3 separate regions of the Homo sapiens genome follow, and all the other regions are linked to region 2. The links are contacts of gene promoters, found by promoter capture Hi-C in human tissues and cell types (Jung and others, 2019). All regions are on one chromosome and are shown on one strand. Each heading gives the region's core, a stretch centred on a gene start or on the middle of the fragment in contact. The rest is flanking DNA. Distances are from core to core; before and after follow the strand shown. Region 1 has its middle 110 kb from the start of LINC02181. Region 2 holds the start of C16orf95 (chromosome 16 open reading frame 95). Region 3 holds the start of LINC02181 (long intergenic non-protein coding RNA 2181).

Region 1 (4,404 bases), core at 1,072-3,571, 370 kb before region 2:
TCCACCAAAGTTTCTGGCCTCTGGGGAGGCTGAGGGGGAATCTGGCCACTCCAGGTTTGCCACAAATGTTTTTGTCTGTGCCAGGAACACTGCCAGGGACTTTGCAGTCATCTCCTGTTCTGATTTTACCTTAACCCTCCCAAGAGGCAGTATCTATTGCCCACCAGTCTTATCACCATTTTAAATAGGAGAAACTGAGATTCAGGGAAGTGAAGGAGTTTGCCGGTGGTCATTCTGAGCAGCTGGAAAGAGAGACCTTGAAACCCATTTATCTGTCTGATTCCAAATCCCAGACCCTAACCGCGGTGTGGGGGCTTCCAGAAAAGCAAGCCCGAGGAAAGGGTCTGGATGCCACCCCATGGGGGCCATGTCGGGTAGGTGGTAGCCGCAGAGGAAAAGCTGAGTCACTGCACCTGAAATTCTGCTGATCGGACCCATCCGCACACTTTTAGGAAAAACAAGCCACTCTCTTTGATCAATGTCCAGGGCCATGATGGGCTCAGGTTCAAAAACAACACATCCCTAAAGTGTGGAAGCCCTTTGGGTTCTGGGAAAGTGGGAGAATGGATTTGCTCTTCCTGAAGTTTATTCAAGGTTTCCTCCTCACTGGGTTGCCCAAGCCTCCTTGGGAGAGGCAGCGTGGCAGCAGACCCCTCAACCACGCCAACACGGCAGGGCTCAGGGCAAGGACGGACGGCGCCAGCCCCGTCAGCACATGGCAGGATGCAGACCTTTCAGGAGAGACCTTGAGGAAGCACGGAGTCCAGAGGAAGGCCTCAGTTTCCCTGCAGGTGCACCCTTTGGGTGGCCACGGGCCGAGAGCTGTTCTAACCATGCGTGTGTGTTCCGCAGCTTCCAGCAGCACCAGCACTGTGAAATACCCAATCAAACAAGTCCAGCCGAGTTTAGGGCATACCCTCATTATCACAGTAAACGTCAGCATTGTATTCAGCCAAGAAAAGAACGACCTATGGGATTCTTTCTTTCCATAGTCACTTAAACTCTTCCAAATTTTTAAATACTTTCTGAAATTTTTCCTAGATCTTTTTATCACATACCTGTGCAACCAAAGTTTCACATCGATAGTGACTTCAAGATTTTGAAGAGGGACGTTCACATGTCAGCCAAGAATTGCACATAGCTATTTCCAGCATAAAACCTGACTTCCTTTAAGAAAGCTATGTTTGGGGAGGTGGTGGGTAAAAGGAGTGACTTCTAACAAGCATGGTTTTTCGGGGGCGATGATGAAAATGTTCTAAAATTGATTATTGTGATAGTTGCATAAATCTGTGAGGACACTAAAATCACTGAACTGGAAACTTTCCATGGCTGAATTCTACGGTAGATTAATTACACCTCAATAAGACTGTTATGAAAAAGAAAGTTACATTCACAGAAGTACGCTAAAGCTTCTCATTAACATTTTTGAAATGATTCATTTGGGCACTGCCTATTCAAATATAAAGTCATTTATTATTTATTTCATGTAAATGAAAATAGAATTAGCATCCTATTTTCCTGTAATTATTTTACAGAAAGGAAACAGGGACGCCCCCAAATCCTCTGCTTACCCCACCACCGTGCATACAGATATGGTTATCGTGTATGTGTCACCCTGCAGGAATGATGGGAATGTCCTGAAATAAAGTCCTTTGGTCCTCTATACAGGACAGCCAAGGAGATGGAAAGATCAGATGACACTGAAAATATTCACGGCCAGCCTGGCTGGGGCCTGGGCAGTCAGAACAAACACCCCTGGAGGCATTGGGCCCCAGCAGGTACCCTCGGGTGAGTAAGGGCTGCAGGTTAAACTGCTCAGGTTGGGGAAGCAAACTCCTCCCTCGCCTGACCCCCACCTCCCCAGACAGGCTGCTGCCTTCAGCCGCTTCCCTGTCTCTCTCCCTTTTCTGCTCCAAGGGGGGATTTTTTTTTAGCTTTTATTTTAGGCTCAGGGGTACACGAGCAGGTTTGTTATACAGGTAAATTGCCTGTCGCAGGGGTTTGGTGTGCAGACTGTTTCCCCACCCAGGTGATAAACATAGCATCCAGTAGTTTTTGGAATCTCACCCCCTCTCCCCCACACCATCAGGTGGGGGTCTGCAGCCCAGCTCAACTGCCGTGCCTGGGAAAGCTCTGCAGACCCCCTCCAGGCCTCATCATCTCCATCCTGCTGTGAGCAGCTAGGCTCCTGGCTTCTCCTGCCGCGTCCCCCAACATGCTGATGCTGCTGACGGTGTGTGCACCCTCCCGCTCCACCTGTTGGTCCAAACCAGCCCCATGTTCCCTCCTCCTGGTGTCCTTGGCCACCTCAGGATGAGGGAAGGGGCCAGGGGATTCTCTGCGTGGTCACTCGGTCACTCCGCAGACCTCGCCATCCAACACCCTCTGGCCTCCCAGAACTGCTCTGCTGGCCAGTGTGGCTAACGGGTGCTCCAAGGGCCATGCTCAGAACCACTGTCTTTGTCCTCAAGAGGATGGTGAAGGGTGAACACTTTCCCTTGAACATTTTCTTTGAAGACAACCTGTTGACGAGTTTACGGAGTGGCAAGTCCCAGCTATGGGAGGAGCTCTGGGGTCCACCAGGCCCAACCCGTCCTCTGCCTGCCACTTATGGACCCCTTCAACGAGCCAGGCACTGAGCTACCCGGCCACAGGTTTCTCTCATCTCCTCACAGCTGCCCTAGGAGAGGGTCTTGTTATCCTCATATGGGGAAACTGAGGCACAGGGGGAGAACTAGCTCACAGAACCAACTCCCGAGTGACAGAGGCAGGCTGAGAAACCTGCTGCCCGCTGCTAACCCATACTGAGCGTCCCGAGCCAGGACCCTCATCGTACACTTGCACACCCAGAGACACATCAAGCCACGGGCGTCCCCACCTGCACAAAGGTCAGTGCGTAGGGCTCAGATGGCAGAGATGGCTGCGAAGCCACAGCCCCTTCACCCACCTTCTCACCCTGCAACTGTGATGAGTTGCTGCGCTCTGTGTGTCTCAGTTTCCTCATCTGTACCCTGAAGATACTAGTACCTGCCATGCCATATCGTGTTACGAAAATAAGCTTCTGTGTGAAACATATTATGTATTTTAAAAACTTAGACTACGTGTCCAACACCATGACACGCTGCTGTGACAGCTACTGCTATTAGTGCCGCTGTTGCCTCTGCCCTGCCACTAGATAAGGTCCTTGTGGCCACGCCAGGAATGATACAGGGAAGCCCAGGAGCTCTGAAGCTCCTGCCCTTCACAGGAATTGAGCCCACTCAGCCACTCTGCTCCTGCTCCTGCTCCTGCTCCTGCTCCCACTCCCCGAGCTTCCACGGACAAATCCTGCCAGGAAAGGCTCTGCCCTGAGCACCTCCGCCCCCACCAACGCCACACATCTTCATGACGCCAGTCCTTCTAGGAGTTTCCGCATGTGCACCCAGGTGTACCTACGTACCCAGACATCTCTATCACCTGTGTGCATGCGTTATTTTCTGAGCTAAATTCCGGGACCAGCATTGGAGGGCGGTGAGCATATGCAGGTGAAAGAAGGAGGCTGGACTAGGAAATTTCCATCAGTTCCCAATGGAATCCTCTCTTTGAGCCCCCTAGGACTGACCATTCAGTGCTATCACCTGGAGGAAGAGGTGTGGAGGGAAGACGCCACCTTCTCCAGAAACACATGAGATGGACAAGCTCTCTCAGTGCTGGGTAGTTTCACGCACATTGCGTGTGTGCTGACTCAATCTCCCAAAAGGTTTACCTCAAAGGATGGAACCCAAAGACAGTTATTTCCATTTTCATCTCCATTTTACAGATGGGGAAACTGACAGCCATGGGGGAGACACTTTCCAAAGGTCAGGACAGTGCAGAGGGAGCAAAGCTGGCATGGAGAGCCCTCAGGCTGCTGCGGAGGCCCCGCGTTCAGCAGTGACATCACACTGCCTCTCTGACTTTTCTTTGCCAAAAGAAAGAATCCCAGGACCCAGAGAGGACCTTGGAGGTCCTCTAAGCAATTCCCTCCTCTCTGTTCTCAAACCACTTGGAGATGGGGAAACTGAGGCATGAGGGGCTAAGGGAAGTTTCTGAATCTACAAGGCAATCAGAGACCTTCTTTAACCAGGTACGCCTAGCTCCTGCCCTTTGAGTCAACAGCCTCTCTGATACTCTTAGAAACACAGCAGGAAGAAAAGTTCACGCAAGAAAGCAAGCCCATTTTTTCACTTTTTTGTGAGGAGAAGGATTTCATATAGGACGTCGCACAGTGAGTGCATCCACCATAGACGCACATGCATGCCCTCTCCCCGTCCAGGGAAGCAAGCAGCCAGCTCTAATGATAATACGTTTCCTGAGAACTTTCCACTCGCTCTGAAGCACTTCTAATTGTGTCTGGAGCCTTTCCTTCCTACCCCACAGGATGAG
Region 2 (4,047 bases), core at 1,169-3,668:
CTTTCGGGGTCTCAGGGACAGAGGGACCCAGTAAGGCAGTGCTGCTTCCACCCTGGACACAGGCAGGCGGCCCCCGAATCTGGTCTGGCATTCACAGCAGATGGCCCAGGGGCCAGGGTGCATCTGAGTAAGATCCAGAAATGACAGAACTGAGCTTGATGCTGCATTTGCAGGGAGACAGGAGGCTCTCAAGCACAGTAGATCCGTGCTCAGGAAGATGGTGTCCGGGGGCAGGGTCCCCAGCTCCTACTGCAGCTTGGAAAGAGGCAGGCTACCGTGGCTCGCCCTGAGGCCTCCAAGGTCATTTGGAGGGGGATCCCCCGGAGCTTGCAAATCAGGTGCGCTGGGATTCTCAGCTGCTTCCTGCTGTGCTACAATGAGCAAGTCTCGTGGTCCCCTCTGAAAATGGGCATGTACAAGCAGCTCTAGAGCTTATGCGCACATGAGTGCTGCCTTTATGGCCATCTGTCACACTCTGGTGTGCAAGAGCTTCCACATCCATCCCATGTGACCTTCGCAACACCCTCAGGCAGGAAGGAGAGGTGCTGCCATCACCTCCAGGGGCACACGGAGAAGCTGATGCCCAGAGCAGGTATATTAGGTGGCCTCCTGAACTCTGAGGTGTTGTGAGGGCCTGGGAGGTGTTCTGGAGGCCCAGGGATAGCTCCTGCAACCACACTTTTGTGTTTGGAGGATTCTCTCATGGGATGCAGCTTCTGGACCCACATTCCCTGCTCTCCTCACCCCACAGGGATATGTTGGGGTCAGGGCCAGTGGCTGAGGATTTGCTTTCCTTACCGAATGACGGGGGAGGCACACTTCTTTCTTGTAGGTTTGAAATGTGCTATTCCTAGAAGAGAAGAACAGAAAAGCTTAGGGTTTGTGTAAACTAGGGGGCAGGGATGCTAGAGCACAGGCCTGGACCTGTCTTCTCAGAACTGACTCTTAATAATAAAGCCCACGGGTGGTGGGGATGGGGGGATCCTCTGAGCCCAAGAAGAGTGAGAGGGTGACATCAGAAGCAGGCGTGTGCTAGCTCATGCGTGAATGTCTAGGGGCTCCTGGGGGCTGGCTGTCATGGAATCCTGCATTCCCAAGCCAACCAGCTTCAAGCTGACTCCAGCTACACTTGTGCTTGGAGCATCAGAAAAGACAGGAGCATTCCAACCTGCTGAGAACTTTCCAAGACATGTAGCTGCCAATCACATCACCTAGGATGATCTGTCAGACACCCTCAACTTACTGAAATACTGAAGAAAAAACATCGTCAAACTGTCCATTAATGAACCTCCTTCCACTATAAAAACCCGGGTGCTTTGTCTCTGGGATGACAAAGCACTTGGGGTTACACAGCCTGTGTGGCTCTTCCCTGTTCCACTCCCCAACAAACTGCTTGAATGTTGGCTGGATGAAGCGTCTCCAGTGGGTGCAAAGCCCTGCTTCCCTGACAGTAGTGGGTCAAAGTGCTTTGTATGTGGAAACCGTAAGAGCGATATAAGTGTTTTTGGGTTTCATTGTCATAATAACCATTATTATTATTGCTATTTTTGTGAGAGTAATAGGTTCACGCATCAACTCTCCCAGATAATGCTTGAAAACAGAGGATGGGGCACTGCCCTCCACAGCATCCGAGGCCCCTTCTGGTAATGACAGCACTGCTATATTCCTGGTGGGGAGGGGGGGGGCCACAGCCATCTCAGTCCTTGTAGTTCAGGTGGGCCAAACTCACCACTGCCCAGCCTGGAAAGCTGGGAAAAAAAAGAATCTCCTTTTTGTTGAGGTTGATAATCTGATAACATGTAAACCTCAGGAGGTCCTGGTGATCATCTTGCCTCCACAAGGGAAGCCAGCAAAAAGGAAGGAAGCTGAGAGATGGAGAGAAACCTTCCAGGACCATGGTCAATGTGTACCTGGATACATCCATGCCTGAAGGCCTACTTCTGACATTTTCAGTTATGTGGAACCATCAGTTGCGTTTTTGTTAAGCCAATGTAAGTGAGGTTCCTGTGGGTGGCGGTCAAGAGTTCTGCCTGTGCATAGGTCATGGAGCAATGCCGGGCCGGGAACTCACAGGCGAGGTGTCGGGTAGCCGCGGGCAGGATTCAGGACTCACTTGCCTGCCATCCTGCGCGCTGGGTGTGAGTGCCAACCTGCAGAGCCCGACGCACCCCGCGCCCGGCCCCCCGGCAGCAGCGCCTGAGGCTGCTCCAGTGGCCTCATGATGATGGTGACAACGCCGCGGGGACGGTGGGGACCGGCTCGCACGCATATGGCTTCTTATGGCTGACGCGCCCTTTCACACACACATCGTCCGCAGGCCCTGACGCCCTGGCTCCCGCCTTTCCCTCCTGCCCCAGGAGGAACCCAACCCGAGCTCAACCCCAGCCCCAACCTCAACCGCTCAGAGGAGCCCAACAACGCCCGCGCGCCCGCCCGTCCCGCTGACTAGCCCGCGCCCAGCCAATCAAAATTGGCCTTCTAGGTATGTGACCTTAGCTGGCAGCTGATTGGTCCCTCACGAGAGACGCGGGGTCAGCGGCTCAGAGCGCGGCTGTGTGGGGCTGCGGGGCTCCCGCCATGCCCGCTGGGGTAGGTCCTGCGGACCCCGGCCACTGGAGCCACTCATCATTTCCGACGGATGGGCCGGAGGGGCCGCCGGCCGCCCCAGCCAGGGTCTCGGTAGCCTGCAAGGAGAGAAAGAGGTGGGAGCAGCCCGCGCGGGGCCCTGCGTCTTGCATAGGCGCTTCTGGTAAAATCACTCCTTTATCTCAGATAATGAGTTGGCGCTGGATCGCTGCGTCCTCAGGTGGGGCTCGAATCGTGACTTTTAGAGAAATAGGTTTTCTTTCTTTTTTTTTTTTTTTAACAACATGGGGTTTAAAGGGCGCGGAATTGGAAGCAGTCGTCACCCGGAGGCCTGGGCGTGCAAGCACCGAAGCTCTGGCTGGCCCTGAGCCTCCCCACCCCACCCGCTCTTTTCGCTGGAACGCGTGTACTTTGGGCAGTTGCTGACGTGGAGACAGGACGTATGTCTTCATATTTTAGTAAAACCCAATGCCCTCTGCCTCTCTGATTATGTTCTTTAAGTTATCGCCAGTTCCAATTTGTATTTCTTGGAAACGGTTGGGTCTTCCCTCACTTTTCAGTATTTTCATGTAGACTCAAATACTCTGGATTAATATTTGTATTTGCCCAAACCATCACGAGCACCTCTTACCCTGATGGGCAATACTTCAGTGTGCTGCGTTCTGGCCACAGAGCAAACAGGGTGCTCCCAGGCACTGCCCTCTCGGATTTCTTGCCTTGTTATTTAATCATTAAGATCGTGACCTATGAGCAGGACTGTTTCCAGCCAGCACATACACATGTCCTCTCCTGGCCAGCATCCATGCTGATTAGACGGTGCCCCTGCCATACTAGCTGCCTAATATTTCAGATACCCCACCCCGTGTGTGTGTGTAAATCATGTCACTGCCCTCTTTGTAGCTAATGACAAAATTCCAAGAGTCACCATTAGCCTAGCACATTATGCCTGTCTCATTTCTGCCCACTTTGGAGCACTCGGCTTCTCTGCTGTTTTCCTCCAGAGCACACTGAAACACTGCCATAGCACAGCAGGGCATAGAAGACAGGCTCATGCTCCCCTGGACGCTCAGGCCTTCACCTCGGGCACACTAGGTCTTGTCATTCCATGTCAAGAATAGCTCTTCACTGCCCTCACCCACCCAAGAATGGCTAAAATTAAAAGGACTGACAATACCTAGTTTGTCGAGGATGTCACAGCTGGAACCCTCATACATGGCTCATGAAATTGATAAAACCACATTGGCAAACTGGTAGTATTTACAAAACCTAAACATATGAATACCTGATGACCAACTAATTCCTCAACTCACCCAAGAGAAATGAGAGCTTATGTGTACCAGAAGACATGAACAAAACTACCCACAGCAGCTTTCTTCCTGATGGCCCCAAACTGGAAATGATCCAGATGTCCATCCATAGGAAAAAAAGATTTTAAAAAGAAAGTATGGCATGTTCACAGAG
Region 3 (4,019 bases), core at 662-3,161, 260 kb before region 2:
GGCGCCATGTGACCACACTCCTCTCTCAGACCCCACAAGAGCCCCGTGGGGGGCCGTGTGCTGCCCACTCTCATGATGAGGAAGCCACGACCTGAGAGAAACTTAGCGTCTTGCCCCCGATGCTGCGATGCTTGGGGATGGGTGTAAACACAGGCGGCTGCCGGCACATCTGGGCTCTCCTTGTGACCTGTCAGGCCCGCCCGCTGCAATAGAGCCTCCTCTGTCCCCTCGGGGCTTAGAGAGGTGAGGCAAACGCTTTCAGCCAGAGGCAGTGAGAAGGGTTCCCTCCACGGCCAGCAGTCTGAGCTCAGATAACTGACTTGCAAAAAATCCCTGACCAACCGGGAGCCTGAGAGGTGTGGGCCGGGTAGGGCGGGAGGAGGGGGAGGAAGCCCTGGGTACCCCAGGGCGCAACATGGCAGGGCCACACTGGAGGATGAGATCAGGCCTCCCAGGCCTCCCAGGCCCCCACCTGCGATGACTCCCCCGCATCGCCCATCGCGGCTGGGATTCTGGAGCCAGGCAGGGGTTCTGTGGTCTGAGTCCCTCTGCCTGTGTGACTCTGGGAAAATCACCAGACCTTCCTGAGCCTGGATTTCCTTCCGTGTGGAAAGATAATCATCAACGACCCGCGCCTATTTCAAGGAGACTCTTGGCCCAAAAATCCCGATTCCTCTAATTCCTCCTGATTTTTCTAAGTCGTGAACACATTAATTTATTGTCTTTCTAATGAGGCAGTGAGTGAAATATTCCGAATATTAAACAAGAAATACCTTTTCGGAAGGGTTTTTGTGAAGCCCTTTAATGGAGGGAGCATGGAGCCACCGTCAGACCTGATCTTCACGGATTTCGGGGCCCTCTGCTGGTTGCCTACACATCCACCCCCTCCCTAAACCTTCCTCGTTGACACGATTCTCGTTTCATTTGGCTTCAAAATGAGTTCCAACAACAACAAAATGCAATTTCCCAGACTCCTTTGCAGCGGAGAGTGGTCACATGACCCCATTCAGCCCAATGAGACGGGAGCCAGCGGGCCCAGAGAGGGCGTCCCTTCCAGGGACACTGCATTTCGGATTTGTGCTTTATCCTCCTCCTAGACGGGCTGAGAGTCCACAGGTGCGGCATTCACCTTGTCTCCTGAGGCCACAGGCATGGCGGCCAGGAGAGGAGGAGGGGGCTTCCCGCCCCGCATGGCCGCAGGCCGTCTCCATGGCAACAACCTCCCAGGCCCAGGGGTTCCGCAGCCTCCGCCAATCTGAGATGATTGACAGCAATGCCATCCAATTACAACATTTCCTCTCTCCTTGGGGACACCGAAAAGCAGACCACCCGGGCATACTAAGGTCAAGATGTCGTTGATCGGTTTCTTTGTTTTATTGTATTACTTGTTTTATTTACCTATTTACTTTCTTGGTAAAACCAGCCTGCCGGCTTGCTCAGGACATGAACTATGACGTCCCTGGAGATGGTCTCTTGGGAGAGGAGCCCCCCAGGCCAGCGAATCCCGCTCACCTGGGGATTAACGAGCAGGCCCGGCCATTTCCCAGGGCCACCGGTGCTCCCTGATCTCAGTGTCTCCGTCTGTAAAATGGGTATAACCAGAGCCAGCCTGTGTGGCCCTGGGGAAAGCGGCACTGAGGACAGACCAGGTGTCCAGCAGGGTCCTGCCCCGACTCCCACGCCCCCCTCGCCGGCCCCCTCGCCGCGGTCTTGCACCCTCCACTCCCCGTGCCTGCAAAGCCTCTGCCCCGTCCCTACACCAGGCTAATCCTTTGCACCTCAGCTCAGAGGCCCCGTCTCCAAAGCCTTCCCTGAAACTTCCTCCTTGAGACACCCACCATCCCCACCAAGCCTGCCACACCCAGGCCTGCTATCGCCCGTGCGGTGTCGTCCTTCTGATAAGCTGTGGAGGGGTAAGGGTCGCCCTGGTCTCTTGTTCATAGCCTTAAACCTAGAGCCACTCAAGTGCCGGGCACATAGCAGGTGCTCAATAAATACTCCTTGCTGATTGAACGGCAACCAGCTGCAAGAGTGAATGCATGGATGCCGCTCGTGGGCCTGGGTTTGGAGATCTTAGAAACAAAGCTTCCTTTTGCCACACTCATGCCTTCTTCTATCACACTCATGCCTTCTTCTACCACAATGTCACACCCTTACATCTTGTATCCGTAGGGAAATGTGGCCAGGGGCGTTTTACCAAGTTGGTCTGGGATGACGTGAGTTAACCCTCACACTCCACAGTCAGAGAGATGGGTAACCCAGGTGACCCAGCGCTAAGTGACAAATATGCTCTCGGATAGAACAGCCCAGAAAGGGCAAGAGGGAGAGTTGGAACACTCAGATAATTACCCTTCAGCGACGCAGTGCACTTAAGTGGTGAAAGGAGATTCACTGGTTGGAAAAACACTCCAGGGCGAAGGGCCAGCGTGTGCAAAAGCACCGAAGCATGACCGAGCGCGGGCATTCCCGCCAGCCACCAGTGGGCCACGCATCCCAACATGTGAGTGCCGCAAGGATACAAGTGCCTAATGTGAACCTCCAAGTGGACGATCATTCAGTACTGACTTTGGGCCTGGCCCCCTTTCCTCATGCAAGCCTTCCAGGCAGGAACTAAGAGTGAGCCATCCTCTACAGAAGAGAAAAGCAAGACACAGCAAGCTGAGAAACTTACCAGGGTCACCCAGTTGGTTGGAGTCAGAGATGTGTTACGGGCAGCAGCTCCTCTGCCCGCTTACGTCTGGGCTTTGGGGGCTGGCCCAGAGATAGTCATAATGCAGCCCTTTATTCAGCACTTGCTATGGGCCAAGTCCTTCATTCACAAGCTCAAGTCTTCCCAACCCAGAAAGAAAGATGGTTAGTTCCATTTCATGTAGGAGGAAACTGTCGAGGCTCAGAAAATTTAAGGAATTTACCGGTCATCAGTAAACGAGAGTAAAGGCCTGTGTGAACCCAAATCTGCCCTCCTCTGAAACTCTCGCTGCAGACATCGCACCCCACTGTTTTTCAATTTCATCTTCTTATTTATTCACTCAACCAATATTTATTTACCAAAGCACTATGAGGCCCAGTTAAGAATGTGTGGTCCTCGATCTGACAGCCTGGATTCAAATCCCTGTTGCCCCACAACTCTCCACACTAGCTGTGTGGCCTTGCAAATTTCACTCAACCTCTCAGGGACTCAGTTTCCTTGATTGTCAAATGGGAGTAATGACATTTCCTACCTCATTGACTTGTTGGGAGGTAGCATTGAGTTATCCCATGCCGCACCCGCTCCCTTGTAAACTCTGGATAATTACCGAGCTTTCTTATAAGTGCAGCTCATGGATCACTCAAGGCACTGGGAATATAGCAATCACAACAAAGATTCTAGTCATGGGAGATGGTCACCTAACAAATTAAAAACTAAGGCATTTGTTAAAGGACTGAATGACCAAGATTAGCGTTCCAAGGAAAAGTATGGCGCTCTGGAGTGGTCAGGAGAGCCTCTGTCACTGAGTAGCAGTGTGGCCCTGTCCAAGCTCCTGGCCTGGCTAGGCCTCATGCCCATGTCTGCATGGCAAGTGCCTGGAACCGGATGGCCATGGCAGCTTTTGCTCTGTGAAAGCCCAACTGCTCCCCTGGACTGCTCCCATGTTTTCTGTCTCCACCGAGCAAGCCTCTTTCAAAGCCCTAGAGAGAGACCTGGGTCCCCAGCACCCTCTCCTGGAGGAGATCTGGACTGAAATGTTTGGGACGCCTCCCATTCAAATGCTCAAGTCTCCAAACCGCTGGGGAGGCGTTGCACAAGAGACAGGCAGGGGTTTCAGTTTCTGGCACTTGTTTGCTCAAAGGATCTCAGCCTTCTTCTTCCTGACATGCAGCTTAAACATGTGAGCTGACCCTTAAATGAAACCCCCACAGTTTTCCATCTCCTTCCAAGAGAATTTCACGGGGTGCAGGGAGAATGGGGAGGACGTGAAACGTGGTGTATCCTGCAGGATTCACTCCCCCACTGACGGGACTAAAGGGTGAGCGTTAAA

What was found. The method cuts DNA at HindIII sites, captures the fragments that hold promoters and counts their contacts. A contact is called where the count stands out against the background at its distance.
Region 1: a fragment that was not itself captured here is called in contact with the fragment with the promoter of C16orf95 in region 2 in 2 of the 25 tissues and cell types used here (lymphoblastoid cells and thymus).
Region 3: a fragment that was not itself captured here is called in contact with the fragment with the promoter of C16orf95 in region 2 in 2 of the 25 tissues and cell types used here (bladder and thymus).

Annotation. Positions count from the first base shown.
Region 1 is chr16:86,944,906-86,949,309 of GRCh38, forward strand. No RefSeq gene overlaps it. Among named protein-coding and RNA genes, the nearest start is that of LINC02181, 110 kb to the right of the region's middle. The HindIII fragment of the contact is 5,951 bases long and covers 1-4,404 here.
Region 2 is chr16:87,314,974-87,319,020 of GRCh38, forward strand. C16orf95 (chromosome 16 open reading frame 95) reads right to left here and starts at 2,419. Exons shown (of 7, transcript NM_001195124.3): 1 at 2,118-2,419; 2 at 799-850; 3 at 1-123. The coding sequence starts at 2,269. It overlaps C16orf95-DT (C16orf95 divergent transcript), which reads left to right and starts at 2,536. Exons shown (of 2, transcript NR_135180.1): 1 at 2,536-2,749; 2 at 2,884-3,070. RefSeq lists enhancers at 240-740, 1,997-2,446. The HindIII fragment of the contact is 14,678 bases long and covers 1-4,047 here.
Region 3 is chr16:87,056,493-87,060,511 of GRCh38, forward strand. It overlaps LINC02181 (long intergenic non-protein coding RNA 2181), which reads left to right and starts at 1,292. Exons shown (of 3, transcript NR_126008.1): 1 at 1,292-4,007. The HindIII fragment of the contact is 4,704 bases long and covers 1-4,019 here.